Regions from separate parts of the Homo sapiens genome. Here all the other regions are linked to region 1. The links are contacts of gene promoters, found by promoter capture Hi-C in blood cells and fetal thymus (Javierre and others, 2016). All regions are on one chromosome and are shown on one strand. The core of a region is centred on a gene start or on the middle of the fragment in contact, and the rest is flanking DNA. Distances in the headings are between cores, read along the strand shown. Region 1 holds the start of LDB1 (LIM domain binding 1). Region 2 holds the start of NPM3 (nucleophosmin/nucleoplasmin 3). Region 3 overlaps OGA (O-GlcNAcase). Region 4 overlaps KCNIP2 (potassium voltage-gated channel interacting protein 2).

What was found. The method cuts DNA at HindIII sites, captures the fragments that hold promoters and counts their contacts. A CHiCAGO score of 5 or more calls a contact.
Region 2: a fragment that was not itself captured here is called in contact with the fragment with the promoter of LDB1 in region 1 in 1 of 17 cell types (total B cells); the score reaches 5.6 in total B cells.
Region 3: a contact is called between a fragment that was not itself captured here and the fragment with the promoter of LDB1 in region 1, in 13 of 17 cell types (erythroblasts, megakaryocytes, fetal thymus and 10 more). The highest score is 14.8, in erythroblasts.
Region 4: a contact is called between a fragment that was not itself captured here and the fragment with the promoter of LDB1 in region 1, in 4 of 17 cell types (naive B cells, megakaryocytes, erythroblasts and 1 more). The highest score is 7.8, in naive B cells.

The regions. Positions count from the first base shown.
Region 1 is chr10:102,116,387-102,124,099 of GRCh38, forward strand. LDB1 (LIM domain binding 1) reads right to left here and starts at 3,982. Exons shown (of 11, transcript NM_001113407.3): 1 at 3,700-3,982. The coding sequence starts at 3,724. It also overlaps a transcript of PPRC1 not described here. RefSeq lists enhancers at 758-1,460, 1,461-2,162, 3,868-4,619, 4,620-5,371, 5,372-6,121 and silencers at 1,049-1,288, 3,622-3,691, 3,782-3,861, 3,922-4,221, 4,242-4,371. The HindIII fragment of the contact is 3,755 bases long and covers 2,650-6,404 here.
Region 2 is chr10:101,780,688-101,788,400 of GRCh38, forward strand. It overlaps NPM3 (nucleophosmin/nucleoplasmin 3), which reads right to left and starts at 2,759. Exons shown (of 6, transcript NM_006993.3): 1 at 2,586-2,759; 2 at 2,152-2,237; 3 at 1,791-1,910; 4 at 1,571-1,664; 5 at 1,040-1,167; 6 at 638-945. The coding sequence starts at 2,703. The coding sequence ends at 1,049. It overlaps OGA (O-GlcNAcase), which reads right to left. Exons shown (of 16, transcript NM_012215.5): 15 at 6,677-6,836; 16 at 3,763-5,900. The coding sequence ends at 5,764. RefSeq lists a promoter at 1-619 and enhancers at 1-586, 465-759, 1,687-2,326. The HindIII fragment of the contact is 1,547 bases long and covers 3,022-4,568 here.
Region 3 is chr10:101,809,933-101,817,645 of GRCh38, forward strand. It overlaps OGA (O-GlcNAcase), which reads right to left. Exons shown (of 16, transcript NM_012215.5): 2 at 3,623-3,674; 3 at 3,098-3,195; 4 at 252-382. Among named protein-coding and RNA genes, the nearest start is that of OGA, 4.7 kb to the right of the region's middle. The HindIII fragment of the contact is 4,868 bases long and covers 3,723-7,713 here.
Region 4 is chr10:101,829,003-101,836,715 of GRCh38, forward strand. It overlaps KCNIP2 (potassium voltage-gated channel interacting protein 2), which reads right to left. Exons shown (of 10, transcript NM_173191.3): 2 at 2,070-2,165; 3 at 842-895; 4 at 73-197. Among named protein-coding and RNA genes, the nearest start is that of KCNIP2, 11 kb to the right of the region's middle. RefSeq lists silencers at 563-612, 733-832, 1,623-1,702, 6,990-7,284, 7,114-7,243 and enhancers at 1,838-2,354, 6,990-7,284, 7,454-7,713. The HindIII fragment of the contact is 5,390 bases long and covers 1,051-6,440 here.

The DNA of each region.
Region 1 (7,713 bases), core at 2,732-5,231:
GCCAGGCTGGTCTCGAACGCCTGACCTCAGGTGATCCACCCACCTTGGCCTCCCAAAGTGCTAGTATTACAGATGTGAGCCACCGCGTCTGGCCATCAACCTGTGATATATCTCAAATCCTAAATATACCCAAATCCTGGATATATACACACACACACAGTCTAAGTCATACACACTGGGACCTATGACACGCATCCTGACCTCAATACACACACCAAAACTGTGTTATAACCCCTAAACCTGTGACAGCCTATCACATACACACCCCGATCATTTATTATGCAAGGACTTAACCTATAAATCACCCTCTCTGAAGCCTGCGTACCATTCCTCATCACAGCCTGGCCATAGAATAAACCCCAGCTTTCACAAACATACTGAAATCTATAACATTCAGCCAGACCCTGCAACATACAGCCTATCACCAGGACTTAAGACACTCCCACTGACTCCCAAATTTACAGCTTAACTCTGGGGTAGTCCCACTTCTCCCCCACTGCCTTTAAACTTTCCAAAGTGCATTCACAGGCAGTACCTCAAGAGATCCTCATAGCACATAGGGCCAAATATCCTAACAGTGAGATCCTAACAGAACCCACTGAGACAGGATGACCAGGGTGGGCTGGGGGGTGGGGGGGTTGAACCCTGCACTTCTAAACCCACCAGATACAAGCCAAGCCCTGCAGCCATTCCTACTCCCTTCCCCCTCCAGGCCTCAAATCACTGTCCTCATGGGGAGGGGGAAATGTGCTCTGGCTTTTGCCTCCAGCCCAGAGCTCAGAACCCCACACCCACCCTGTCTCCTCAGACAGGAGGGACTACAAGGGCCCTCCAGTCTCGCTGTGGGGTGGAGGGGCCCCTAAATGCCAAGATGTATCGACTGGCAAACCATTCAAAACAGGCCTTCTAGTTATTCTCTAGCAAGTCTGCTCCTTTCTCTGCTCTGACCAGATTTACCCAGTTGCACAGGGGCAGAACAGGTCCAGCTAAAAAGAGCAAGTCTGAGTTAGAAGGCCTTAGAATTGGTGGTGAGGTGGAGGGAGCAGCAAATAATGACAAAGATGATGAGGGAAAGTACTCCTCCTGGAGGTGGGGACTCAAAGGACAGCAGCCAGCCCCAGCCCACAGGATGAGGTACCAGCACTGCCCCCTGCCCGGGCCCCTGGGGCTCCCTGACCCAGGCCTCCAGTGTGCCTGCCCCCCTTCCTTTGTCTGTGCCCGGCCTCCCGTTGGCCTGGCGCTCTGCCATCCTCCTCTCCTGGCTCCCAGCCGCCACCACTGCTGCCTCCTCCCCTCCCCCTACTCCTCCCTGCCTTAACCCTTCTGAGCCACATGCTGCCCCAGACAGGCCCTGGCCCCCTCAGCCTCTTGCTCAGGGTGATGCCCCTTAGTCAGAGGCTCTCCCTGCTCCCAGCCATTCCAGCCCCAGAAGCTGGTCCTCACCCCAGGAGCAATATGGGTGTTGGGCATGTGTATGTGTGTATCTTGTGGTGCTTCTGCGTGTGCATGTGTGTGGGTCTGTGTGCGCTCTGGCTTCCCTCAGTCACATGTGTGGGGCATGTGCTGTCTCTGCCGGGCTGGGGGAGGAGGAGGAGCCCGGAGACAGCAGAACACAAAGGAGAGACTCAGACAGGCAGGCAGGCAGGCGGCAGGCGGCCTGCCAGGGCGCCTCAGCCCTCACCCCAGGGCTGCTCAAGGTGGGGGAAATCTTTGGGCCTGGACTGCTACATGCTGCCATGCCTTCCTTGTGTTCAAGCATGTGCTCCCCCATCCAAGCAAGCTGCAAGCCAGGTCCCCTCTCTAACCTCAACTGCTACTATTCCCCACCTCCAGTCTACTCTGAAGCCCTCCCCATGTGGTTCTCCTTGAAGTCTAACCTCCATCCACCCTCTTTGGCATCAATCTATAAGACTTCTTCATGATCTGGAAAAAGACTCCCCACTCTTCCCTATCTTTTGCCCTCTCTCCCTCAGTCAGACCACCAGACACAAAAGGAACATGCCTTCTGGGGCATTGACTGAAGTTGTCTTCCCACCCACCCACAAACCCCTGGGCTTGGGCCCTCTTCCTGTTCCCATGCTGCTCCCAGAGACTAAGAAGAAGAGATTTTCTCTCTCCTCCCACTGGACCCAGGCACCCTGCCCCAACTTCAGGGCCAACCTCCCATCCACCTCCAGCCTGACAACCCCTCCATACATACATACCCGCTTACCCACTATTTGTAGGAACTAAGAATCACAATTTAAGACTCATCCCTCTAGCTTGTTCAGATCCTTAGTTTAACTGCTCTGCTCATGTGTGTTGATGGAGGGTCAGGGCCCTGGGGTGGGCTAAGAACATGATGGATCTGAAAGGGGTACCCAGCATGGGTCAATTATAAAGGAGAAAATCCACAACATAAACATGTACACCAAGCTGGTAGAAAGAGGGACGACGGGGCCAGACAGGATTCCAGCTTGGCAAGCTCTTCCCTCTCCTCTCCCCAACCCTCTGCAGCAGGAGCCAGTGGTTCCCATACTCGGATATTCTAGGATTGTTAGGTTCTCTTATTCCTCCTTCTGGGACCCATGCCCCTTAGACATCAGCCTCAGCAGGCACCTGAAGTGTGTGCCCAGCCCAGCTTGGCCTGGGTCACATGATTTTCAAGGAAGCTTCCGCACTGGCAGCTTCCCTTGGGGATTTGTGGGGGAGTGGTGGGTGTCCAGCTGTGAAGTATGTAGCCAAAGCGGGCTACATTCAGGGACACTGACTTCCAGGAGAAAGCTGACTCCAGTCTGGGGCAGGAGGGCCAATTCCAGGACCCAGAGTCCCGGGGATGGAGACAGACAGTGTGCCGTGAGGCCCTCTGTAGACTACCTCTCCAGTCGCATGGCTTCTCTCTTTCCTCCTGGCAGTGAGGTAGACGCCCTCCGCCCCCCCCACCTGCCCCCCAGGAAAAAAACTCAGACCTAGGCTATCCCTGGCAAGAGCTGATATGTTTTGGGGAGGCAGGGATCTGAGCCTGGGTCCTCTCTCAAGTTCTCAGTTTTGGGTCAAGTATTGCTCCCCCAGCTTACCTCTCCACAAATCACTCTATTTCCTAGCCTGCCCTCCCACTAGGGCGGAGATGCCAGACCCAAGGGTCCAATTATCTGGCACCTCTTAGGAGTACCTCCGGTGCCTCAGGAGGGCCAACCTTCCCTGGCAACAGGCAGGAAAAGTTGAAGGTGGGGGGCAAGATGGGCCGCAATCAATACCTCCCTGCAAACAGGGTCCTCAGAAACAGCATGGGGGGGATGTCACAGGATAGGTAAGAGGCAATGGGCAGCAGGGAAGGGGGGGCAGCCCAAACCAGCCAATCACAACTCTATGGTGACCTGAGGGGGGGGGTCAAAAGTCCAGAGTCACTTCTGATTGGCTAACAACCTGGAATTCTGAGAATTTCAGCCCCCCCCAAACCTCTCCCCAATTAGCCTACCCCCAAAAAAACATACACATAAGCCACCCCCAGCGTCTCCTCCCCGTGTTTCTGGGCTGCTGCGCATTTACACAGTTGGGGAAAACGCTACCCGCCAGCCTGAGGCCCCGCGTAGCCCTTCCAGCCCCCGGCTTCCCCCATGCCATCGACGCCCCCCACACAAGTTCTCGCCAAACACGGGGTGAGGGGTCCGCAGGGACGGCTGGGCAGGAAGGGGCCGAGTGGCCGCACGCCCCACTCACCAGGACAGGCACAGCCCACTGACATCTTCACATCGCCCGCCTCTGGGGGCCCAGCCGAGTCACGGTGCCCGCCCCTCGCGGGGACAGGCCGGGCATGAGCCGCCGCCGCCGCCCGCGGCCCCCGCTGCGCTCGCCGCCGGCCCGGCCCGGCCTCGGCCCGGTGCGGGCGGCCCCTGGCTGCGGCGAGGGGCCTGTCAGGCGCGGAGCAGACAGGAAGGAAGCCAGGCAGGAAGGCGAGCGGCCTCTGCGTGTGTGCGCGCGGGTGTGAGTCCGCGGAGTGTGTGTCCGTGTGTGCGTGTGTGCGCGTGTGCGTGTGCGTGTCTGTGCGCTCCCGCCGCCGTCGCCGAGCGCCCCCCTCTCCGCCCTCGCGCTCGCGCTCCCTCGCGCCGGCGCCGGCTCCCCAGCCCAAGCCGGGCAGGGCCGGGCTTTATTAATATGCTAATTGTCCTGCTAGTGGGAGGGGAGAGCCGTGTCAAAGTGACCCGGGAGAGCGCGCAGCAAGCGACGACGTGCGTGCGCCGCGCGGCGGGCGGGCGGCGAGGGGCTGGGAGCGCTCGGGGAACGGCATGCATGTGACGCAGCTTTTAAAAAAGGAGACGGAGGCAGAGACCCCAGAGAGGGAGGGCGAAGGGGAGGGCTTGGAGGCGCAGCCGCGCGCTCGGTGTCCGTCCTCCGGGTGCCGCCGGATGGGGAGTCTGGCTGAGCCGGAGCGGGAGCCGCGGCTGGGGGAGGCGGAGCCGGGGTGGGCAGTGTGGTGTATCTCTCTCCACCCCGGGCCGCGCTCCGGGAGGGAAAAGGGACTGCAGACCCCCTGTCCGTGCTCCCTGCTGAGACGCCAGCCTTCTTCTGGAGGCCCCTTGTTTCGCGTCCCTACCCTAGGCTGGATGGGTAAAGAAGCATTCTCTTAATTCTTGTAGCAACCCCTCAACTCACCCCTTCCCTAAATTAACCACTCCTCCTTTGCCTGCGAAACCAGTTGGGACTAGAACTAAAAGGGTTAATTAAGTGGGGTCCCCGCCCTCCTCCGCCTAAGGGCTTGGGATCTGTGTTTTGCTGGGGGGAGGGGGCTGCGGAATGACCACCAGATTGGATTACGGAGGGGCGATAGGAGGCCATCCTTCCTTCTTGCAGACTGACGCATCAGTCAAGACACTCTCTTCCCTTCCCCCCTTTCTCCAGCCTTGGTGCCTTCACCTCCGTACCAACCGCCCAACCCCACCGCCTCCGACCCCCCTGCCTGGAAGCTGCTGTCCTTTGAGGGCTTCGGAGATGAGAACAGGAAACAGGCCCCTCCAGTGCCCCCTAACCCAGAGAGGCAGAGGCTGTGGGCCGTGGGGGGTTGGATGGGAGATGATGTGGATGGTCAATGTAAGGAACACTCCTTCCCCTGGGAGGAGCCTCCCAACCTTCAGTCACACTTCAAGGACTCCCCAACCCAGCCCTAGGAGGGGAGGGGCTCCATCTCCATCCCTTCCCAAAAGCTCAGCTTTAGCTGCCTCATAAACAGGAAATACCTATTAGCCAGGAGGAGGGAAGGGAGGGGAGCCGCCTGGAGTAGAGAGTTGACCCCCTCCCTCCTGGGGTCCCCAGCTGCTAGCTTTTCTTTCTTAAGTTTCAGTATGGGCTCCAGGGATAGACGATGGAGACTTGGACTAGTGTCTCCTCCCTAGGGCGTCTGGCCCTGACTGGGTAGGGGGTTCTCCTCTTTGTTACTTAGAGGGGTGTTGGTTGAGAAGGCTGTTTGGTTCCCTCACTCTGGCTCAGAGTCTGCACAGCTGGCTTGACTGGCTGGGGGAGGGTTACAAATGCGGAGGCTTAAAGTGTTTATGAGACCTCTTCTCTCCACCTTAGGTTTTTGCTGAGGGAGCATGAAATGATGGAACGGTGCAGAGTCCAGGGATTGAAAAGAAGGCCTGCCTAGGAATGGAGACCCTCCCCACCATGTGCTTAGGATGGGGGATAGGGGAGCTTGTACACTGTGGAGTCTCCCACCCCCAGGTTTCCCCATCTCCACCCCCACCAGGAGCAGAGAGGACCTGACTGAAGCCATCCACACTCACACAAGTATTTCCTTGGCAGCATCCCCTGCCTGAGTGCACCCCCTCCCTGCATTCTCCCAGACAAAGGTCAGCACTAGAGGGAGTAGAGAGAACATAAGGCAACAGAACACTGGCCCGAAATTGTGGATACCTAGGTTTGAACGCAAGATTCGCTCCTCAATACCTGAGTGATTTGAGACAACTGACCACCCCACCTGGGACACTAGCTTTATCCTCTGTAACCTATGGCTTGGTGAGTATCAAACTAGACAATGTACACCCAGTCACGTAGCCCAGTGTCAGCCAGGCAGTCCTGTAAATACGTGTTCTTTCTGCCCTTTTTTTTTTTTTTTTTTTAAGATTATCCAATTCCAAGAGAGGAGGGGGCTGGATTGGCAGGACAATTTGAGATGGTTTGGAGGAGGGGGAATACCTACCTTGACCTCCTTCTCTCTTTTCTGTCCATGAATTTGCCTTCCTCCAATCCTGTGACCACTTACGCCTAAGGCCACTCATTCCAAACAACTAGCTTGGTCAGATTCCATGCTGACCAACACAATGGTGATCATCTGGGTGGACAGGGGGACTACAACCCACCCTATAAAGGTCTTTGCCTCCTGTGAATCTGAGATTTCCCTCTCCTAGATTACACATGTGGAAGGTAGAAGCTTAGGAAGGAAGAAAAAACTGCCTTACTTGAGCATGCACTAATGCCAGGCACTGCCCTAGGCCTTTTACACTTGCCGACTCATTTACCTTTCATGAGGACCTTTGGAAGAAGGTGCTATTACCTCCATTGAACAAGTAGGAAAACTGAAGTTCAGAGATGATAATAAATTTGAACTTGCCTGTAAAACACTGTTCTCCCTCTTCTTCACCTACTAGTTAATGCTTCCTTAACACCTTAGTTCTAGCTTCACCTTCTCTGGGAAGATTACCCTTCCCACTCCCACTGACACTATAGCCCAGTTACCGGTAAGGAAATACCATCTCAGTACTGTTGAATGGGTGGTTAAAATAAGTGATTGGGGCTCCTACAGGAACTCCATTTAGGCAAGTTAGTTAACTTTGCCAAGGTAACAGAGCTAACAAGCACTTGACCCATTGCTCCACTCCTTGCCTTACTTCTAGTGTGGATCAGACCTGGGGAGGGAGAAGAGAACATCTTTGGAGCATCTCTGGGAATTGTGGTATAGGCAAAAATGGGAAGAGAGGTCACAGACACCTGGCAGACAGAAGGGATGTGGTAGGAAGGGGGTGGAGTCTATGTGGAGGGGGGGTCTTTAACTTAATGACAATGTCCTGGAGGACTGGAGGCTTAGCTGATTTGTATGGATGGGTGTAAGTGCCCAGTATTCTCTCTCTCTCCCTCTGTATGTGTGTGGTAAAATTCACATAACATAAAATTAACCTTTTTTTTTTAGACGGAGTCTTGCGCTGTCGCCCAAGCTGGAGTGCAGTGGTGCAATCTCAGCTCACTGCAACCTCCACCTCTCCAGTTCAAGCAATTCTCCCTACGCCTCAGCCTCCTGAGTAGCTGGGATTACAGGCACCTGCCACCACGCCTGGCTAATTTTTGTATTTTTTTTAGTAGAGACAGGGTTTCTCCATGTTGGTCAGGCTGGTCTGGATCTCCCAACCTCAGGTGATCCGCCCACCTTGGCCTCCCAAAATGCTGGGATTATAGGCGTGAGCCACCACGCCCGGCCTTTTTTTTTTTTTTTTTTTTTTTTGAGATGGAGTTTCGCTCTTGTTGCCCAGGCTGGAGTGCAATGGCGCAATTTCAGCTCACTGCAACCTCTGCCTCCCGGTTTCAAGTGATTCTCCTGCCTCAGCCTGCTGAGTACCTGGGATTATAGGCATGCACCACCATGCCTGGCTAAAAATTAACCATTTTTAAATGATCAATTCAGAGGCATTCTAGCTTTTTATTTTTAAACTTTATTCTTTTTTTTTTTTAGACAGAGTCTCGCTC
Region 2 (7,713 bases), core at 2,545-5,044, 340 kb before region 1:
ACCTGATTCCAGGCACCAAAGACCCCCAGACCCCACGGTGTGTGGGGGACAAGAATCCCTTAGTCCAGGAGGCAAATTCCCTGGGGCCCCTTTCTGCCCCCATATGCCAGGCCACCCGGATTCTGGTTTCCCTGTCACCCAATCTGGCCAGTCCCCTCCATCTGGCCCCCGGAGTCAGGTTTCTCTAAGGGCCCAGCCCTGCTCAGAGACAGCCTGCAAGGCTCAAAGGAGGAGCGAAGCCTGGTCCCGCCCTGCCCTCACAGGCCCTCTCTGGGCCAGAGACCCTCGTGGGGCTAGGGACGCGCATTCCTCAGGCTGCCTAAGCTCGCTTATCTGCCCCCCTGCCCATCAGCCGAGTGCTGACAGAGGCCCAGACCCCTTGTTTGGATGCTGATAACCTCCTGCGATGACCCTCTCCCACCTGCAGAGACTGGGAATGGGCTGAGTGTTGGGAGGTCCCCTTCCAGCAAGGCAACTGGGGCCCAGGCCCCAGGTCCTAGCCCAGGGCCATGAGGGTAGAGGATCCCACAGTTCTCCACCCTCCCCCAGGCCCAGGGCCACGCTGGGTGCTTCCACAGTGCCACCTGGCGGTCCCTAGGGAAACATCACCCAGCACAGGAAGAAGCCACACAAGAGCTGCAAAAACTCCACACCACTTTATTTCAACCTTTATCCAAAAATGTAAAAACTATTAAAAATGTGTAGCTCTGAGCTTCAGGCACTAACCTCCAATTCTCACAGGCAGGTGGGAAGGGAGGCCCCGGGCATGGTGAAAATCAGAAAACCACGGCTGTGTGGAGCACAGGCCCTCTCCTAGCACCAAAGACCCAAGTCCCTCCCACCCAACCCCCACCCAAGCTCTCCTCTTCAAGGAAGAAATATTTACAATTGTTGAAACTTGTCAGGGAACAGGGTGCATGGCGGTGCATGGCACATGGAGCTGACCTGAAAAGAGGAAACAAGGAATCAGCATTTAGGCCCTCACCTGCTTCTCCTGCCCCTTCCCAGAGCCTGCTAGGCACTTCTCCCCGCAACTCACCTAGGAGGGCTAGGGCCTGCCCCCCTGCTTTTTGGCAGGAAGGATGGGGCACAGCTCAACTTCTTCCTCATCACTGTCCTCTTCCTCTTCCTCGCTCTCCTCCTCAGAAACATCATTGCTCATCGTAACTGGTGGACACACAAGCAGTAGAAGGATGGGGTGTTAAGACCAGACCGTTTCACACCGCATGCCATTTCTTCACGCCGTGGTGTTAGGCTTACAGGGACCATGACCTCCCAGTGCTTATGGGCTAGGTGGGAAGAACCTCAGACCCTAAACTGGGTCACAAAGAGCCAAAGGAGTCTTCATTATTGGAGCTGGAGAAGTTGGGCCATGTTCCATGGAGGAGGTAGGCTTGAGTAGACGGAAAGGAGAGGGCATGTCATGCACAGGGCACAGCGTGGAGGGCACACAGACCTGTACAGGGCTGCACTGGGAGATGAGGGTGGGATGGGGCAGGAGTGCGGAGTGGGGGAAGCCTGATGGGAGAGTCCACTGGAAGCAAAGGAGAGGGCCCTCCCCTCTTCTCACCAATCTGGTGCCGCCCAGTGATCCGCACAGGGCCAGAGCCCGACTTCAGGCGGAAGGTTACAGGTGGTTGGAGCTGGAAGTCATCCAGACTGAGCTGGGAGGAAGACAAGGATGAAGGCCTGGCCCACTCCTAGCCCACCCCACACTGTAATGAGTGCTAACGTCCTCAATCCCCTCACCACCACCACCACCACCACCAAGGCAGAGCTGGGGAACTCACCATGGGTTGGCAGGACAGCTTGAGGTTGGCCACAGGGACTGCGATCTCCTGATGGTCATGGTTCCGGGCCACAACTTCTACCACATTACACTCGTCTTTGGCTCCCTCGGTGAGGCAGAGCTGGGAACGGTACACAGGGCCTCAGGGTCTCCTCAAGTGAGGGTTGACACCACAACTAAAGGCATCTACCCTAGCACCTGCCCAGCCTCAGAGGTCCCGGTTCACCTGGCCAGGGGAGCCGCCCATGCCGGGGGGTTAGGCTGAGGATGTGTCTCCAAGTAAAGGGGATCCGGAGGTTGGGTAGAGACCTATATTGCCTGCCTGGGCTTATTCATTAAAACCCCACTCCCCTGCCCCTCACCATGGTTAGTGCCAGCACGTGCTCCGCATCATCCTCTTCCTCTACCTTAAAGGTGAAGGAGCGGGTGTGGCCGGAGAGCTCACAGCCTGGTAGAAATAACAGTGAGTATGCCTGAGCGTGTGTACGGGGCTGGGCAGCGGGGGATGTCACCAACCCGCCGTCACGTGTAACCTTGGGCGGACGGGTCATTTACACGTCCACCTCCGTCTCTTCTCTCAGAACACCTGGGACGCTCTGCCGTGGGCCCCGCCCAACACATCTGGGGCAGGGATCTCGCCACCCCCTTTGGCTGTGCGTGCGAGGCCCCCTCTCCTGCGGGAACAGCGAAGCAGCCCTCCGCCCACACCCACGCCTTGAAACCCTCCGCATTCCCGCCTCACATCCCTACCTCTTACCGCCCCAGTACCACCCTCAGCCTCTCCCTTCACTAATACCGAAGAAAAAACTGTCCATAGTGACCGGGGCCGGGACCCGTAGGCCCCCGACACCCCCGGCCCGCGTTCGGCTCTCCTGACTCAAAAACGCTAAGGCAGCTGCAGTACCGGCGGCCATGCTGTAAGAGCCTTCTTCAAACTCCGCCCCCGACACGCACAAAGCCGGGGACCCTCGGCCAGTTCCGGCCCCGCCCATTAAAGGAGACGCACAGTCCTGGAAAAGAAAAGGCGCCGAGACCCCGCAGCCCTACCCGGAGCCCGCAGCTTCTGCTCATATTTTATCAAGACCGAAGAGAAAGGAAGTAACATCACAGAAGAATGGATTTGGGGTTTATGTTAACATCCTTGCTCATTTCCACGACCATGAGGGTGTCCACTTCCCCAAGCTCCTCGCTCTGTGTCGGAAGAGTGTCTCCCACTCTTCCAACCCAGGGTAAGCTTTCGTTAAAGGAGTTATAGATATAAAAATGTAAACCCTTCTTACTCCTCCCAGCAAAGGTGGGGTTCAGGGCAGTGCTTTTCTGCTACAAGCAAAGGAAATGCACTCAGATTGTCTTTGCCTCAAGAGAGCCGAGGAGCCTTAGGAATTTCCATCCCAACACGTCTGTCCTGTCTGTCCTCTCGGCTAAGCCTCTCTTAATTCTTCCTGCTCTAAAGACCCCGCAACTTGCTATGCCTTCACTGAGACTTAGCTGCTGGCACTTGCTAGCAGAGGACTAGTTAGCTCATGTGTGTTGGCTGTTCCTGGCCCACCCACGCTTTTTGAGCTTTTAATTCCAAATCATCCAGGAGTATCTTTGCGCCGTGGATTATTTTGTCAGTTTATGCTACTCGCGCCATCTTTCGCCTTTTAAGAATCAGGCAAACTGTGTGCTTTCTATCCTAATAGATGGCAAAACTCAAACTAGAGGCCCTATTTCACATCCAGGTTATAACTGTGGCAAGAGGGTGGGGTGGCTTGGCTAAAAACTAGTCTACTTTTCTTAGCTCTTGTCTTAATGAAAATCTGGAAGTCTTACTGGTGATGGAGGTAGGGGAGGGCTGCCTTCAAGATCCAATCTCTAACTTGGAACAGCTGTGGAGAGGAGAGAATACCTGCTTGTAGGTGAGGCATGAAAGAGGAGAAAAGGGAGGGGGCAGACAGGAAATAGATTCACACAATACAACACGACAAGCATTCACTTCAAGTTTTATTTTGCCTCTTGCATGGTCTTTTACAGTTCGTTTTCTACAGGAACTGAGCTCTGATCCAAACAATCAATAAAAATGTAATTCCAACCTTAATATTCATAACCAGGAAATAGCATAGCACTTCATGATCCTAGAGTGATGAAAGCAAGACCAGGGCATCTGTTTCACAGTCACCTGTGACCAGACCAGCCAACATGATTACTAAAAGCCAAGATAAAACCAAAAGCAAACTTGCTAAAAAATCCTGAATTCCATGAGGTTAACTCTGAAATCCTCCAAACAAAATGCTAGAATTGTCCACTAGTGTTAAGACGAGAAAACTGAGGAAAACTCAGCTGTCTTACTATCTGGTAAGAGTCTTCCCTTCATCTCAAGCCCTCAAAAATGCAAACTTGGTTCCAGCTTTACAACATACCATATCCTTCTATCGGTTAAAGGTTTCTAACCTAAAAACCTTCTCTCCTTTCTTCTCACCTATTTAGTGCATACTCAAAGGCTTTGGTTGGAAGTCACTAGGTACCACTAGGTACAATGCTTTAGGGCTCTCTCAAAGCCCACAATGGTGGAGTTCTGTGAAAGAAAACTTAAGTTTCTTTCTCTTTACCCCTCTCCCCTCACTCAGCTCAAAGTTAAACAGCTGATGCAAAACTACAGAGAAGCAAGATAACAAAATACTGTTATCAATCTATGGAGAAATCAGCCAGCCATGATGAAAAAATGAGTCCTGCCGACTATCTGCCAGCTTCATGCTCAGAACCCTTAAAAACACAGAATCTAAATTAAAATACATGAAGCTTTCACAATCCGGTTAAAGGAAAAAGGTAACTGTAAATAACTGGTTAAAGTGTGCTCATTCATTCAGAAATTAGATACAAACATGCAAGAATTAAAGACTCTGATTTAATAAAATCAGTAGTAACAGGTCTTGAGATTAAACAACTGACCTGAGGGCAAATGGGACCAATCAGTCCCTGAACCCTACCTGACATGTCAAATCCAACATTTCACATGCTGACCTAATATTGAGGTTAATTTCCAGAAGTAACTGCACTTTTCAACAGATTAAGTCCTACAAAATTAGGCTCTCGTACCCCAAATGGTCATGGCCTACGCCTAGGTGGGAGGCACTTTAAAAATAATAAAACTTCAAAAAGAACAAAAACAACCCCAAACCCAAAGACAAAAGTAAAGAAAATCCACTTTTCACTGGTTTACATTATTCAAAGTGCCATTCTGAACCAACACCCTTTCATTTATAGAGGAAAAAAATTTACAAAAACAGTAAACACAAAGGATAGTCAGGTTACAGCTAGTTTATATACAAAGAAATTTACAAGTTTGTCAATTGTAGGCTTTTGCCACAAACAAATGCACATTTGTCCCTACAAAGTACAACATGCCTGAACCAACAGTCATTACAGGAGACAATTGGCCACGGCTTTACAAAAAGCAGAATAACTGCCCCAAATTGAAATTATTTATTCAGCTTAAACTAATGCCACAACCATCCCACTTGGAATCACTCCACCCTGACACTTCTGAAACCCACTCTTTCTTTCTTTCATCTCTGCCATGTCCCCTAAGACTGAGAGGCATTTCACTCAATAAACCAAGGAAGATGACAGATGTTATCTTGATTACTCTCAGGTGAGAAACGCAACCACACTGGATGCAGAAAATAGTGCTGACTACATTTATTGAAGACTCTCTCCCTGTATAAGCCCATGTAAAAGGTCTCAGCACCTAACACAAGACTCAAAAAGGAAGCCCACATCTCTCTTTCATACAGGATTTGCTGCAATACTATATTCTTCCAACCAGTGAGTAGTCTCAAAGTGTGATGGGTGAGTTTTACATAGTCTTCTTTGTTTCGAATCCAATTGGCTGATTTGTTACCATTCTAGAGGCTGAACTGTATGAAGACCTCAACTACCATTCACAAGGTGCAGTTAAGAGACTTTTGGACAGTTCACAGTGTCAACAAATGTCACAGGCTCCGACCAAGTATAACCACATCCTTTGGAAATCCTTCCATTTTTGCAATTTCAAAACATCCTAACTTGCTGTAAAATTCCAGAATTCTTTTATCATCTGGTCTCACTTCACAGAAAGCTCCCCGGGAGCCTAGAAATAAAACAAATATTCAAAACATAAATAAGTCACTTAATTAGTATAATTATAGATATAAAACTATAATCTTCGAGATGGTTAATATAAACAGGGCTTGTCTGTCTACACCAGCTCCTACATTTCACACAATTAAAAAAATTCATATTCAAAAAATTCAATAATGAGTGGCGTGAGCCACTGCACCCAGCTTCCCCCGCACCCGAGACAGAATCTTGCTCTGTTGGAGTCCAGTGGCAAGATCACGGCTCACTGCAACCTCCGCCTCCCGGCTTCAAGCAAGTCTCCTGCCTCAGCCTCCCGAGTAGCTGGGATTACAGGCGCCTGCCACCACTCTTAGTAGAGACAGGGTTTCACCATGTTGGCCAGGCTGGTCTCGATCTCTTGACCTCATGATCCGCCCACTTCGGCCTCCCAAAGTGCTGCGTGAGCCACCGTGCCCGGCCTTTTTTTTTTTTTTTTTTAAATTAGGTAGAGATGGGGTCTCAGCCATATTGCTCAGGCTGGTCTCAAACTCCTGGACTCAAGTGATCCTCCCACTTCGGCCTCCCGAAGTGCTAGGATTACAAGCATGAGCCACTAAGCCCAACCAGCATTTCTCAATTATTAATACACATGCGATTCTTCACCACTAATTAATTCAGAAACCAAATCATAAAAGGTGGGAAAAGCAGTATAAATTTACAATTCACTTCTTTCCTTTTATATCCAAAAATATATAGTTCTTTCCCTATCTTGCCCAAATACCACCAACTCCACAAATATGTACTCACCATTAGCCTTCAGTGAAGACAGGAGGCAAGCCATCATGCTTTTGGCCACACTTGGGTCAGTTACTTTTTTGTGAATGTCCATCTTTATCAGAGAAGGGAAATTAGCAAGGAAAGTTTCTGGCAGTACTTCCTGTTCTTCATGGAAACTCAACATTATTTTCTGGAAAAATTAGAATCTCTTGACTTTCACAATAGTTACGCATTAGATATCTAACCCAACTACAGAACTTAGCAACAAGAAAGCAATATTTAATAACTCTTCCAGTCACTATGTAAATTATCTCACACAGGATTATCCTATAATTCTAGCTGAAGCATTTTCACTTTCTTTGAGACAGGATCTCCTTCTGTTGGCCAGGCTGGAGAGGGGCAGGCATTCTCCCTCGCGTGCACGCGCTCTCTCTCTCTCTCTCTCTCTTTCCCTATTTATATCGTCAGGGCTGGTCTCGAATTCCTGGGCTCGAGTGATCCTTCTATCTCGGCCTCCTGAAGTGCTAGAATTACAAGTGTGTGCTGCCGTGCCTGGCCACCGTTTTCACTTTTAAAAGCTTGGGCCAGAGATCAAGACCATCCTGGCTGACACAGTGAAACCCTGTCTCTACTAAAAAAAAATACAAAAAATTAGGTCGTGTTGGCGGGCACCTGTAGTCCCAGCTACTCGGGAGGCTGAGGCAAGAGAATGGCGTGAACCCAGGAGGCGGAGCTTGCAGTGAGCTGAGATGGCGCCACTGCACTCCAGCCTGGGCAACAGAGCGAGACTCTGTCTTAAAAAAAAAAAAAAAAAAAAGTTTGGGTTGGGTCTAGTAGCTCACGCCTGTAATCCTAGCACTTTAGGAGGCTGAGGCAGGCAGACTGCCTGAGCTCAGGAGTTTGTGACCAGCCTGGGCAACAAAGTAAAACCCTGTCTCTACTAAAAACATAAAAAATTAGCCAGTCATGGCGGCGTGCGCCTGTAGTCCCAGCAACTCGGGAAGCTGAGGCAGGAGAATTGCTTGAACCCGGGAGGCAGAGGTTGCAGTAGGCTGAGATCCTGCCAC
Region 3 (7,713 bases), core at 4,907-7,406, 300 kb before region 1:
CTCGGGAAGCTGAGGCAGGAGAATCACTTGAACCCGGGAGGCGGAGGAGGTTGCAGTGAGCCGAGATTGTGCCACTGCACTCCAGTCTGGGCGACAGAGCAAGACTCTGTCTCAAAAAACAAAACAAACAAACAAAAAAAGAAAACAAAGAAATAGGAATTTGATTTCCTTTTAACATCGTAAAAGCAACTGAGTAAACTTCTAGTTTCAAGTACATAGTCAGGAAAAATGAATAAAAAGTAAGGAGTTACCTGGTCCAATTTACGTTTCAATGTGGATACTTCCTTGGGGTTAGAAAAAGTGATATCCAATCCAGGTGAGATCGCATAGATGAACTCTATCTCATATTCTCGTGCAGCAGAGATGAGAGTCATAAGTTGCTCTAAAGAACAGAGTCTATGTTTTTAGAAAGCAGAACAGAAAACTAAAAGAACCTTCACTGAAGGTTTAACTGAAGAGGTTATTTCTTCTAACTTACAAGAAAGGAAAAGATCCTCACATTTTACAAATTGTCATGTCCAACTTAACAACAGGCCATACAAAATGGTACAAGCCTGAAGTGATTTAATGTCACAGTAAGGGAAAAAGAATAGTTTTCACACCTTTGAAATCTGAACCAACAGAAAATAAGAGGCCCTTCTTTTTCACTTCCAAATAGTTTCTTATCCTTTTGGGGAAACAGGCTAAAATCAATAAACATTTTCCTCCCTTTCATTGCCACTTCTCAAAAACACTGAATTGTCAATTCTCTTACTGAACTTAAGCCATTTCTATTTCCTGCAGCATTTGAAAGGCATAAAATGCAGCCGCTGCTTTTTTATTTTGAGAGCCTTGCTCTGTTGCCCAAGGCTGGAGTGCAGTGGCACGATCCTGACTCACTGCAACCTCCACCTCCTGAGTAGGTGGGATTACAGGCATACCCGGCTAATTTTTGTTTAGTAGAGATGAGGGTTTTGCCATATTGCCCAGGCTGGTCTCGAACTCCTGGCCTCAAGTGATCCGCCTGCCTTAGCCTCTTACAGTGTTGGGATTGCAGGCATGAGCCATGGTACTGGATCTTGCTTTTTTTTTTTGTTTTGCCATCTCTGAACAGCTGGAATTCCTAACTAAATAAACCTACACATAACTACTTTATAATATGAAAGAAAGAAAATGCTTTCTTAAGAATCAGGGTAGGCCAGGCCCAATGGCTCATGCCTGTAACCCCAGGACTTTGGGAGGCCAGGCAGGAGGACTGCCTGAGGTCAGGAGTTTGAGACCAGCCTGGTCAACATTGTGAAACCCCATCTCTACTAAAAATACAAAAATTAGCCAGGCGTGGTGGCGCATACTTGTAATCCCAACTACTAGGGAGGCTGAGGCAGGAGAATTGCTTGAACCCTGGAGGCAGAGGTTGCAGTGAGCCAAGATCGCACCACTGCACCCCAGTCTGGACGACACAGCAAGACTCCATCTCAAAAAATGAAAAAAAATGAAAAAAAAAAAAAAAAAAAAAAAAAATGAATCACACCTGTAATCCCAGCACTTTGAGAGGCCACGGCAAGTTGACTGCTTGAGTTCAGGAGTTTGAGACCAGCACAGGCAACATGGCAAACCCCTCTCTCTACAAAATATACAAAAATTAGCTGGGTGTGGTGACCCGCGCTTGTAGTCCCAGCTACTTGGGGGACTGAGGCGGGAGGATTGCTTGAGCCGGGGAGATCAAAATTGCAGTGAGTCACTGCACTCCAGCCTGGGTAACAAAGTGACAAACGCTGTCTCCAAAAAAAGAAAAAGAAAAAGAACCAGAGTTAAGTCATGGCCTTAACAATCTTGACCTGTTTCTATCTATGGGAAAAACATTAATTATAGATTTTAACCTTTTAAAATTATCAATTGACAATTTTCCTAAATCAACTTAACTACTACTAGTATATACTATAAGACATATTTTTGAATAATTTTCAGTAGTATCTCAAGATAGTCATTTTTACTCTATTTTGATTATTGATCACATTAAGTTTCATTACCAGCACCACCAGAAAGTAATTAAGTTGAAGGCACACTTAAATAGAGTAGTAAACCACAACACTAGATGGAGATGGGGTAAGCTGTAATTGCTTCTTTGTAATTCAAGAAAACTTTCAGCCTTCTGTGCCTTGGCTGGGCTCTGTAACCAAATATCTTGTTAGCTATATGCGTATACCATTTAATTTCAAGTACAAAAATGTTTCACCATTTACAAGTTCCCAAAGAAAAGCACCTCTCTAATTTGGCGGTTCAATGCTATACTACTTTTTATCAATTTTATGTAACCAACTCAACGTTAAGTATACCCATAGCAGGCCGGCCGGGCACAGGAGCTCAAGCCTGTAATCCCAGCACTTTGGGAGGCTGAGGCAGCAGAATCTCTTGAACTCGGGAGGGCGAGGTTTGCAGTTAGCCGAGATCGCACCACTGCACTCCAGCCTGGGGGACAGAGCAAGACTCTGTCTCAAAAAACAAAACAAAACAAAACAAAACCCAAAGACAGCCTATTAATGGCTTCCCACTTTCCTGGACTAGGGTTTAAGGACCAGTAACTGCTGACAAGGCCAAGCCATACTAGAGCCTGAAGCAAAAGGAACAATCAGTAGTGCTGATCCTGTCTTTACCTAAAATTTTAGCATTGTGTACATCATGAATTTCTGCATTAATTTTGGTTTTTTAAAAAAATTGCATAAAATATTATTTATGTTGATTACTTTTTGGGGGTCCCTTAAAATTTGCACCCAAGGTACGTGCCTCACTTGCCTTGCCCTGGGCCTAGCCCAGCTCCAGCACTTCTTTGCCCAGTGGCCCACTGTTTAATCCACTGGCAGAAGTAAGCAGCACAATCTATGACCACAGAACAGATGGAGTCAGCCTAGCACGCCCATGATATCACACATATGGTCATGACCTTGCTAGCGCAGAGCACTCTTTCAATCTCAGCTAACTGAATAGTTACCAGATAGAAGAAAAGGAAACTACCTACAAAATAAAAATAAAATGTCATAAAATTCTTGTACAACTACATTTAAAATATAACCGTTTTCTTCACAGATTTTGAATTTATGGATAAAAAGAAAAAGATTACCAGCTTCCTCCACTGAATACATCTCTCGCCAAAACATCCTATGTTTGTAGTCATCTTTTGGGGCATACAAGTATGTATTTAATTCCCATTTCTGGAGCCTTAAGGAGAAAGAAAATTACATATGTATAAACAGGCAACATTCATAGGCTGTCAATCTCCATTTCCCTCTTCTTGGAGCATCTCCATCTCATACAAAGCTAATATTCTATGACAGTAGCTTTTAACCTTTTTGTAATCAGTGGAATTTAAAAAAATTAAGTATTACAATGTATGCCAACATACAAAACACTCTTAAAAAACACAACAGCTCTGGGTAAGGTGAAGCCCAAAACTTATTCAGCTCCCCAGGAAAAGTTTGAAAATCAAAGGCCTAGGTGAAGAAAAAAGGGACCAAGGTAAAATAACTTCTGCAATTGAGAAACCATCAAAATGCACCTGGGCTATTCACTGTTAGTATTTCTTCAAACAAAAGAAAATGTTAAGAGTTTAAGGTTCTCCTCTCTCCTTCATATAATGAAGATTTACCTTCTAAAGAGTTCTTTTCTCTGTTCCATAACCCAAGGTCTTCCATAAAATCCTAGATTCAAAGTAAGAATGAAATTATATTCAGTTTTAAAATGTGGTAAGCTTTATTGAGAAAAGCAAGTTACAAAACATATAATACAATCCTATTTTGTAAAAAGCATAAAATACACCAAATCGGAAGGATATTTAATAAAATACTAAGGTTCCTTTAATCTTTGGGTGGTGACGTTACAAGGTGACTTTTATTCCATTTTTGCTTAGGTAATTTTTTTTATTTTTTCTACCATGACATTAGTTACTTAGGTGATAGTTATTTTAAAACAAACATCTATCATCTTTCCACTGTTGATAAAGTCCAAATATATTTAATTCCAATTTTTTAAGAGATCTCAATCTTATAATGGGGAACGGCAGCAATGTAATACAAGCTGCCAACAGTAACAATTACTTCCTAGAATGATAGTAAAACTGCTTTAGAAAGGGTGAGGGGAGGCCGGGTGAGGTGACCCACGCCTGTAATCCCAGCACTTTGGGAGGCTGAGGCAGGTAGATCACTTGAGGTCAGGAGTTCCAGACCCAGCCTGGCCAACATGGTGAAACCATGTCTCTACTAAAAATACAAAAATTAGCCAGGTATGGTGGCAAATGCCTGTAATCCCAGCTATTTGGGAGGCTGAGAAACAACAATCACTTGAACCTGGGAGACGGACTTGCAGTGAGCCGAGACTGCGTCACTGCACTACAGCCTGGGCTACAGAGCAAGACTCCATCTCAAACAACAACAACAAAAGGGTGAGGGGAGATAAACAGGTAAAGCAATTAAAAACAAATCAGAGATAGGATTAGGAAAGAATCTGACTTAATTTTATGATCGTGCTCCTCTTTTTTAAAAAAAGTTCCTGGCCAGGACTGGAATTCCAGTTACTTGGGAGGCTAGGGCAGGAGAACTGCTTGAATCCAGGAGGCGGAGGCTGCGGTGAGCCAAGATCCGCGCCATTGCATTCCAGCCTAGGTGACAGAGCAAAACTCTCTCTCTCAAAAAAAGTTCCACATACAATGATATAATCAAAGGGACCAAAAAATGCCTGAAACCACATTCCCAAGAAATTCAACAGCCTAACTGGCCCAAACAACAAACTCTCACGCAATCTTAATTACAGAGCAAAGATCTGAACAAATGAAAATTCAAGAATATTACTTCTGGTCCTTAAACGGAAAGGAATAAACAAAGAAAACTCAAGAATGTCCCCAGAGTATCCTCTAAGAGGACAAAACACTAGTTATGCACACACTGCAGAAAACAAACTCGCAGACCGATAACCTAAATGGTTGAATAAGCATCAAACTGGTATCTGGAACTCCCTAGTGTGCTCATCACAGCTCAAACCACACACTTTACATCTTGTCTAACCTTTACTTTCCACTTGTCTCAGTCTAATCATCAGTAAGAGATAAGGACAGCCTCTCAAGAGTACCATGAAGAAGGTTAATAAAAGCATTCTGAACACAAAATGTTCTACATAAACCCACACAATCTACATAAGAGACTAGTCTAAAACAAATTTCTGCAATGTATTTTAGCTCCAATCTCTAGGCAGAATGACTCCTCTGCACCACAAAAAGGACAATGACAGACCAAATTAAAATTCATTACATACCAATGTATAACTGTAGCACTTTCATCTGGACAATCTAATGTTAGCCTCTCACAAGTGATACAAAATATTCTTTTTTTTTTTTCTCAGGCGGAATCTCACTCTGTCGCCCAGGCTGGAGTGCAGTGGCACTATCTCGGCTCAATGCAATCTACGCCTCCAACTCCCGGGTTCAAGCGATTCTCCTGTCTCAGCCTCCCGAGTAGTTGGGATTACAGGAGCCCGCCACCACGCCCGGCTAATTTTTTCTATTTTTAGTAGAGACAGGGTTTCGCCATGTTGGCCAGGCTAGTATCGATCTCCTGACCTCGTGATCCGCCCGCCTCGGCCTCCCAAAGTGCTGGGATTACAGGCGTGAGCCACCGCGCCCGGCCAATATAAAATATTCTTGATCAGGCAGACCTATACAAGTCTTTAGCATCCCTACGGCACTTAGCATTATCATTTTTTTTTTAAGGAGTAGGCATTAAACATCCTTTCAGAGTTGCTCCAATATAAAAAAAGACTTTTCAAATGTCTAGCTTAATTAAACATTTTAATCTTTAGAAACCCTACCTTGGCTCTTTTGAGAGTCAGGTTCATGGTTTCGGTTGACTGGCACCACAAAGAGGAAGCAATGCTGTTAATGTAAGTTAAAAACCAAGAGAGTTTTGTGATGGAAAGAAAACAAAAAAGAAATCCTAGCAGTAACTATAGTATTTCTATGCTCATTCATTTTACGGCTGGTGCCAACCAAGAGGTATCAAAAAGAGAGAAAAAAAAAAAAAAAAAAAAAAAAAAAGCCAGGCGCGGTAGTTCACGCCTGTAATCTTAGCACTTTGGAAGACCGAGGCGGGCGGACTGCCTGAGCTCCGTAGGTGGAAACCTGCCTGGGCAACACGGTGAAACCCGTTTCTACTAAAATACAAAAAATTAGCCGGGCCCGTGTCTGCAGTCCCAGCTACTTGGGAGGGTGAGGGAGGAGAATTGCTCGAACCCGGGAGGCGGAGGTTGCAGTGAGCCGCGATCACGCCACTGCACTCCAGCCTGGGCGACAGAGCGAGACTCCGTCTCCCAAAACAAAAACAACAAAACACACAAAAAATCAGTGCTGGCTCAGGTGCTCAGTCACTAAGAAAATATACAAGGGCACGGGAGGGAGGAGGAATAAACGAGAGAATGGCAGACAACTCTGTTCTTTAAATAGGAAGAATCGCCTTTTAATGCTATTCTAAACAAACGAATTTAAACCAAATGAGTTTTCTCCTTTTATAACTGAAGGTATAATGGACTGGCAAGTTTCCTTAGACTCATTCCAGTCTAGCTCCGAAATTTCCCAGCACTCTCTCATCCCCACTCCAAGATCTTTGATAACAAAAACCAGATTCTTTTTCTAAAATCTCCCTGCACTCAAGCCAATAAATACAACGATATAAGTCACACAATGCAATCATTTTTGATGAATACTATATAGCAGTTTTCCATTCTGTAATCCCCCAAATTCTGCAAGACAGTTAACTTCGCTGAACTCTTTCATGCCTTACTGTAGCAGCAAAGTAGCCTGTTATGGTCTGTACCATAACCACCACCCATTTTTCGAAAGAATACTCTAATTTATATGGTGAAAAAAAACAGAAAAGCTGATGTTCTCAACGTCGAGAGCAATCCTTTTTCCATACCTTTTTGGTTTTTTAAATATATATATTTTTTACCCTTATCCACGCCATTACATACGAGAGAGATATAAAACAGACATCTAGGAAACTCTGAATCGGCCAAAATACTTCAGAAAATTCAAATACATGCTGTAACTGCGGAAAGACTAATAATGTAACCGATTCGTGCCTCTACAGAGCTGCAAGGTGGACTATCTGTCCATTCTCATCCAGAAACTGAAACAAGCATCTGGTAATTTTCCCTCACTACCAAAAAGTCCATCGTTCTTTTCGACTGTAAATGGGAAAAAAGGCGAGAAGGGCATTTTTAAAGCCGCTTCTGCGGTCACTAAATTCCAATTACGCATCTCAGATACTTCGAGAATCTGTGATTAAAGCCAAAGTTTCATCCCTCGAGAGCAAAGTACAGTAGCTGGGAAAGAGGGCAATTTTCTAAGTTGCAAATGAATCTTTGCGGGGGTGGGGGGAAGCAACAAAAATATTCTAAGCCAAGTGGAACTTGAAATACTATAGGCCAAACGTGCTTCTCTTCACTCCAGAAGTACAAGCACGTCAGTGTGGGCCGATTTTCCACAAAGGGTGGTGACAGAAGCACTACACATATTTTTTCACTGGAACCAGACAACCCTAGGGAATAAGATCCCAAGGTACAAAGAAGTAGAACTCAGAGGCTAACAGAACACCAGGCTCTTAACCACCGCCTCCTTAGGAGGTGGCCTGGCTCCAAGCCCAAGACGGGTGGGGTCAGACTTGTGAGTGGCCAGGGGGGAATTCGACGCCG
Region 4 (7,713 bases), core at 2,496-4,995, 290 kb before region 1:
TCTGGGAAGCTGTGGACCGGCTTGGGTCCTCCTGTCCCACCCTCGCTGAGTTTGGCCTCGCCTTGCACTCACGTTCTTGAAGCCCCGGTACAGGACCTGCAACTCCTTGCGCGTGAATTTGGTTTGCTCCTGCAGCTGCTCCAGACCCTCAGGCCGGTGACACACGGTGGACAATTCAAATTCATCGTCCACGCTGTCTGCGGGAGCGGTGAGGACAGCCGCGCCTCAGGCCCAGCCTCCGCGACCCCTCTTCAAATCACTGCCCCATTCACCCCCTCCCCGCCCCCCGGTCCCATCCGATGCCGGAGACCAGGCTGCCAGTTCCCTGGGCCCCGAGCCAAGGACACTGAGGTAAGGAGAAAAGATGATGGCCATCTTCGAGGTCTATCAGCGGGCCAAGGCCTGGCCTGGCCCCAGAGCCAGGGATCCGACTCAGTGCTCGCCCCGCGGCCCTCGATCCCTCGTTGGAGGGGAAGGCCCCCAGCCGCATCTTCGTTTTAGAAAGGGAGGAGTGGGAAAAGCCAGTTCAAGAGGGGGCGTCTGAGGGTCAGAGCTCCGGGCCTTCGGGGACCAACTCAGATCCGCCCAGCCCCAGCCTTGCCCCGCCCAAACCCTCCCCTCGTCCCACCCAGCCCCTCCCCTCGCCCCGCCCAGCCCCATCTATCCCAGCCATGCCTGAGCCATGCCCCGCCCAGCTCAGCCAACCTCCATCCAGACCCCACCCCCGGCCCCATCTCAATCCTGCCCCGCCCCCAACGTCCAGCCCCCAGGCAAGTGCCCCCCACCCCAAGATGGCAAAGCCGCCCTGCCCCGCCCCGCCCCCACCAGGAGCGTAAGTCACCTGGGTCCAGCAGGCGGGGTCTGTGGGGGCGGAGGGAGGCTGGGGCGGCTAATGCTGAAGGGAGCGAACTGTCACCGAGAAAGCGGAAGACCCGGCCAACTGCAGACACACACCTGGCCCCTCACACTCAGAGCAAACCTCACAACCCAGCCCGTGCAAAGGCACACCCAACCAGCACAGACACACACGAAACGGACCCCATGCACACAAGCTTGCGGGACTCACGCCTGTCCTTTTCCGAATCCACCCCCGTGTGGGACCCATCTAAGTCCAACACAACAGCATGCTCAAATAACTACAAAGCGGGCCTTTATGGTTTGCAAAATGCAGTATGATCCTATGAGGTGGGCAAGGCCCAACTGAGGAAATGGAGACCTAGAGACAAAGCGAGGTCACTCAACTGGAGATCACTCAGCAGGGGACCAGGCTGGCACAGAAAACCCAAATACCCTGGCGTCTGGAGGAGGGCAGGCGCCATCCTCTACACCTGTCACCATCCTGTCGGGGCATAGGCAACACACATCAGGGGTCCAAAACACGGTGGGGAAGGGGGCGGCCGCACGGAGTTGAAGACACTAACCCAGCTAAGCCACATACAGACCCTCACGGCCGCCTGGTCTACACAGGCCGCCACAGCTACACAGGCTCAGGCCTCAGCCTGGTCACAATGGTCACACCCACACTCTCGGGTCCCACAGTTTTGCGGGAGCGGTGACACACACCCGCTCCCAACTGACCACGCCCACACACGCTGGCTTCAGCCGCACACGCACACAGTAGCCACGCCCCCTTATGCTCCAGCCTTGCCAGCACCCGCCCTCGCCACGCTGGTCACGCCCACACACACACACACACACACACACACACGCACGCAGGCCTGGGGCACGCCCCTCCCCCACACGCAGGCGTGCGGCACGCCTCCCCATACACACACACACGCGCGCGGGCCTGGGGCACGCCCTCCACACACATGCAGGGGTAGGGCACGCCCCCCCACACACACACGCCGGCCTGGGGCACGCTCGCGCGCACATGCACACACATACACACGCACAGGCCTGGGGCAGGCCCCACCCCCACACACGCAGGCCTGGGGCACGCCCCCCCACACATGCAGGCCTGGAGCATGCGCACACTCGCAGGCCTGGGGCACACGCGCACACACTCATGCACAGACACGCACGCACACATCGAGCCCCGCCCCCGGAAGCACATGAGAGGCACTTGCTTTCACTGACTGAGGGCAGGGCTTGGGGCCCGCAGCACGGCAGCAGCTTGAGGAATCGCTGCTTCAGCGCTTTTTTAGTGGGCCCTGGAGGGTGGCCTGGGAAGAGAGAAGACCCCAGGAAGGCACATTAACTCCCATTGTCCCTCTGTTCCCTGTCCCCTCCCCGCCAGTCACAAATCAACCCCATCTGGGGACCGGGCTGGGGGAGGAATTAAGGGGAGGAAAGGAATGGCAAGGGTGGTTGGAATCGGGTTAGGGGAGCCCAGTGAGTCCATAGAGGTGAGGCTCAGGCACTTGGTTTAATGGGACGTGGCCGGTGACAGCGAGGCGGCAAGGATGAGGTGGCAGTGGCCTCAGTGTCTTTGCTGACCTAGTACCCTTGGCTCAAGTGCCATGGCTGGACCTCTCAGGATGATGTCCAACCCAAGGATTGCCTGGGTAAGAACACCTCTCTCATACACACACCTACAGTGACAGGCGTGTATAGTGACATGTAGAACAATACATCACAGTGATGGGTGCCAGTGACAGCTTGATATCCAGTAACTCACACCTGATGGCGTAATATGCATGCTCACACACACACACACAATGACCTGCTAACTCCTTAACACAAACATATACAAATGTGACCTAAGTAAAACAGGATGCATACACATGGAGACCCATATAGGCCATCTCACACACAGCATGATCAAACCACACAAGAACACACAATGCCTCTGGGACATCATGACATGTGAGTCTACAAAGAACACTATGACATTGTGACCTTATAACATTATGAGACATATCAAGGTTGTCATGACACATATCCATATCATACTGTGACCTGGGTCCCCATGGCACCCAGATATCTAAGGCTGTACCTCAATACCTCACCCACAGAGGCTTCATTTTTCCTGGGTACACCCACTTTTCTTTCCTGTAACCCCTCCTCATTCCAAGGTGCCCAGAATCTTTCTGCCAAAGGGCAGGGTTCCTCATCAGCTAACTCATCTACCCTAAACTGTGGCCCCTTCACAGTCTCTTCCAGTATGGCTTGCTCTTTGAGGGTGAAATAATAGTAAACTTTGTGGCAATAAGAGATCTTGGAGGCGAGTATTCTGGTGTATTGTGGGGCTATCCATGGCCCACTGATCATGGCTCCCCTTCCCCTCTTCTCCCTTATTTCTGCACATGCTCTACAGCTCTAATTGCACCCCCAGAGGACCCTCAGTGTTACTGTGTGTGTGTGTGTGTGTGTGTGTGTGTGTGTGTGTGTGTGTGTCTGTGTCTCCCAGCTGCACTGCATCCAGATTCCTGGATCAGATCCCACTGGATCTGACACAGTGACTAAAGTTGGCCTCAGTCCATTCCTGGAGGGGTCCAACTTCCTTTAGTTAAAGGTTACTCCCCCTCCATATACCCCACCCTCCCAATCCAGGCTTCACCCTCCAGATCAGGCCCTGTTCTCAGGAGGTGACTGGGTGAGTAACCACCTCCTCTCCTTCAACACATCCTTACCTCCCTCCCACCCCAGGAGCCATGGAGAGGTGGGAGGGAGGCAGTGGGCCAGGCAGGGGGATCGATGGCATTCCTGGCCTCTGGCCCAGGGCTCCATTAGCCTGGACTCTAGTTTCCCAAAGCTGGATTGCGCCTGGGGCCTCCAATGGTGTAGTTGCCCGACTCGGGGGTGGCTCTCCTGCCCCCCACCCCAGCCCCCTACCTGCTTCTAAGCCTCTGTCTCCTCTAAAGGTGAGAACAGAATGGCTGCCTTCAGCCCAAGACTCCTGGGATTTCCAGATGCCCTCTCTTCCCCCTTTCCCATCTAAAAGGAATGGCAAGTTAGAGCTCAATCAACTTCACCTTTTCCAGATTGAATGAGAACAAGCTCAGCCCAGCTGTCCCAGTTTATCTAGGTCCAACTCCCTGTTCCCCACTCCACCCCAATAAATGCAGCAGAGGATGGAGGGTGAGCTAGGAGTTTTCTGCTCTTACTGAACCCTAGAGCAGGCAATTCATGCACCTTCCTCTTGTTCCCAGTTTCCTTCATATTTTTCCAGTTCTTCCAGGTATCTACCCTGCAGTCCTCCATCATGGTTCTAGTCTGTCTTCCTGTCCCTGGTGGTACTGGGGAACAGCCATGCTACGGAGTTACACAGTTCTAGCCGTGAAGAGGAGGGAGAGGTCAAAACTCCCAAGGGGGAGGCAGAAGTGCTCCCCACTCCACCCCAATATTACTCTCCCTACTGACTTTGGGGTGGGCTGGGGAGGGGAGTTGATTTTCCACTCCCAATGTCTAGGCCCTGGAGATCACTCTGCACTTGGATCCTGATAGGAGCTTGGAGAGGCAAGGGGACTTGGGAAGCAGGGTCCCTGATCTGATCCACTCCTCATCCCCAATCATAGCTGGGCTATAAATGTCTCCTTCACAATGTTCACACTCTTCCCTCCAGAACCCACCTCCTCCCAAGCCTTGGGTATGGAGCTGGTATATCCTCAGGAAATTCTGGAAACAGCCACATGCACAACCTGATACCCAGAGGCTCAGCCACATACTGTGCCACTCAGGCCTGGCCACATCCACCTTCTCACAAAGCCACATGCCCTGTCACTCTCACACATACAGTCATATCCCTGTCCCATACACAGGCTCACAGTTACACACTTTGTACTCTCTCACATACAGGAACACAAAGTCACACCCTGTGTCTCTCACACACTATGCCCACACACCCCATAAGCTACACTGCACAGATGGAGGTGTGGAGAGGATGCACAGGCACCGTGGTGGGCCCCTGACTCCAAAAAGGACCCCCCAGAAATCCGTTGTTATCTCAGGATCCCTAGAACCTCCCTCCTCTACTCTAGACACTCCTTCCCTATCTCCAGACCCCTCCTGGTATCGCCCAGAATCCCCTCACCTCCTCATCTCCACACCCCAGTCCTCCCACACTGCACCCCTCATCACCTCCTGACACCTTGGTCCCCCAGATTCCCTCCTCCCTCCATATCTACTCCTTGAGGCCTCCTCTTCACCCCTCCCAGATGTTGTATCCCCCAAGCACCCCTACTCACCTCCCAGATCCCTGTGCCATCACTCACCTGCTCATCCCTGCCCCAGTCATGAAGACAGACAAACACCCTCCCTAGTGCTGTGGGGCAGCTGCCCCACCAGCCAGCAGCTCAGACATGCCAGGACACCTGGATTACCTTCCAAGGAGACAGGCTCAAAGAGGCCAAACTGCTCCAGGACCTTGACAAACAGAGCGAGGACCACGAGCACAGCAACCATCTCCAGCCCTTCCAGGTTCATGGTGGGCCTGGGGCATGGCCCCTACAGGGCCCAGGTTCAGATACGCCGGTTCACCGCCTCACACCACCTCCCCCTCAGACTCCCCAGCCTGAGTAGGACTGCCTGCAGCCTCCCTCCCACTCTCCCTCCCAGGATCTCCTTCCTCTCCCCCATCACCCCGCCTCTGCCCCACAAGCCTCCCAACCACAGCCGCCGCCTCTTCCTCTTCGCAGGGCCACCTCAGCCTTTGGACTGGCACCTCCTTGGGAACTTTTGGCCAAGATATGGGCCAGAGGGAGGGAGCAGTGACCCGCCTCTGTCCCTGAGAAGTGCTTCCCCTAGACATCCTGTGGCTACTCTGTGCCAAAGGGAAGGGGCAGAGGGAGGAGCTGAGCTTAGGGAGAAGGCAGGGAAGGGCAGGGTGTATGTGCATGAGAAACCACCATCTGCACATGTATAAGTAATCAGATGCATGGGTCAGAATATGTTGTGGTGGCCAGGTGTTTTCCTGTGTGTATATTCCTGTGTTTGTCAGTATGGCAGTGCATATGTCTCCTCTTATGTGTGTCTTTGTGTGCTTACACGTGACTGTGCACCTGTCACAGAGGTGTGTGTTTGGCGTATGGTTATGCATTTTGACTCTTGCGTATATGGGTATGTGAGCTGGGTGTCTATGGTCTGCATGTGTAGGAGTGTGTTGAAGTATTTGTGAGTGTGCATGGGGAGTGAGGTTCCTGTGTTTTAGTAGGGTTGTAGGATGTGGGTCTGAAGTTTGTTAGGTATGGATGTGTTGTATAATTTGGAGGGTGGGTCTACTGTTTTGTCATTGTATTGGCATGGAATTGTATGAGAATAATGGCGGAGAAGGCAGTGACCTCTCCTGCTAGGAGGATATCACCAATATCGATTTGGTTGCCATGGAGACTGTGAGGAGGGAAGCACTCTCTTCCCACAGGCCACAGGCAGTGAAACTGAGGCCCAAGGGAGGGGGGATAAGATACAGTAGTAGCCTAGGCAGAAAAAGGCCACTTAACCCCATCAGGACCCTCTGGGGAGGGGACTTACTGCAGCTGCCTTTGGGGTCAAGAAACCCAAGCTTCTTGGGAGAGGAGGGGGGACTGTGCTGGCTCCGTATGTGGCTGGGACCTCATCCGGGAGATGCTAAAGCCCTGCCTGCTCCTTAGGAACTGTTATTGAGCTGATGGAGAAGCCCAGCTGCTGTAGGAGGGAAATCTGAACCTTCTAAGGGAGCCACCCCTCCCAGCCAGCATCCCCGGAGTCCCTCCCTCCTCTTCCCTGCTTCTTCTTGGTGGGGTGTTTGTGTGTGTAAAGGGGTGGGGAGAGGCCTACAGAGCCAATGAGCCACAAGACTAGGGCCTCTGGGTTAGTAACACCATTACTACCGCTGCTGGCTAACGGTGACTGAGCATTCACTATGTACTAGATAATGCACTATGTGCTTACAGGTGTTGTAACACCGAATTTTCACAATAAGCCTATGAAGGCATACTATTATCCTCATATTACAGGTGGTGAAACTAAGTCAAAGAGAAGTTAAGCAAATCTTCAAGATCAGAGCTTCAATTTTAACCCAGTCTGACTCAGCCTTCACTCTAAACCACCACACTACACTGGCTCCCTTCTTAGAAAGCTGGCCCAGCCAGGAGGCCCAATTTAGGGGGATTGGCCCCAGAAGGAGCCCTCCCTCTTGTCCAGCTCTGGGATGACTGTGTCTCAGCCCAATTTGTGGGGTGGGGGCCAGTCCCTAAGGCCCCAGTCGAGGTTGGCTGATCTGCAGTTCTATACAGCCACCACCGGGGGGCACGCGTCCAACCTCACACAGTACCATACACCTTCCTTCTCCCCGACCTGCCCCATCCAGGGAAGAGGTGGGAAGATGACGCTTCACACAGGCTTTTTTTTCTCTTTTTTTTTTTTTTTTTTTTTGAGACAGAGTCTCGTTCTATCACCCAGGCTAAAGTGCGGTGGCGCTAGCGATTCTCGTGCCTCAGCCACCGAATAGCTGGGATTACAGGCGTGCACCACCACGCCCAGCTGATTTTTATATTTTTAAATAGGGTTTTGTCATGCTGGCCAGGCTGGTCTCGAACTCCTGGCCTGAAGTGATCTGCCCCCGTCGGCATCCCAAAGTGCTGGAATTCCAGGCGTGTGCCACCGCGTCTGGCCTCAAATAGGCTTGGTCTGTTCCACTCCTTTCCCCTAGGAAAAAGTCTATTTAGGGATTGCTTGCCAATCCCTAAAGGTTGGATCAGGAGTCCCAGACCAGCCTGGGCAACATGGCGAAACTCTGTCTCTACAAAAAATTAGCCTGGGCTGGGCAAGGTGGCTCATGCCTGTAATCCCAGC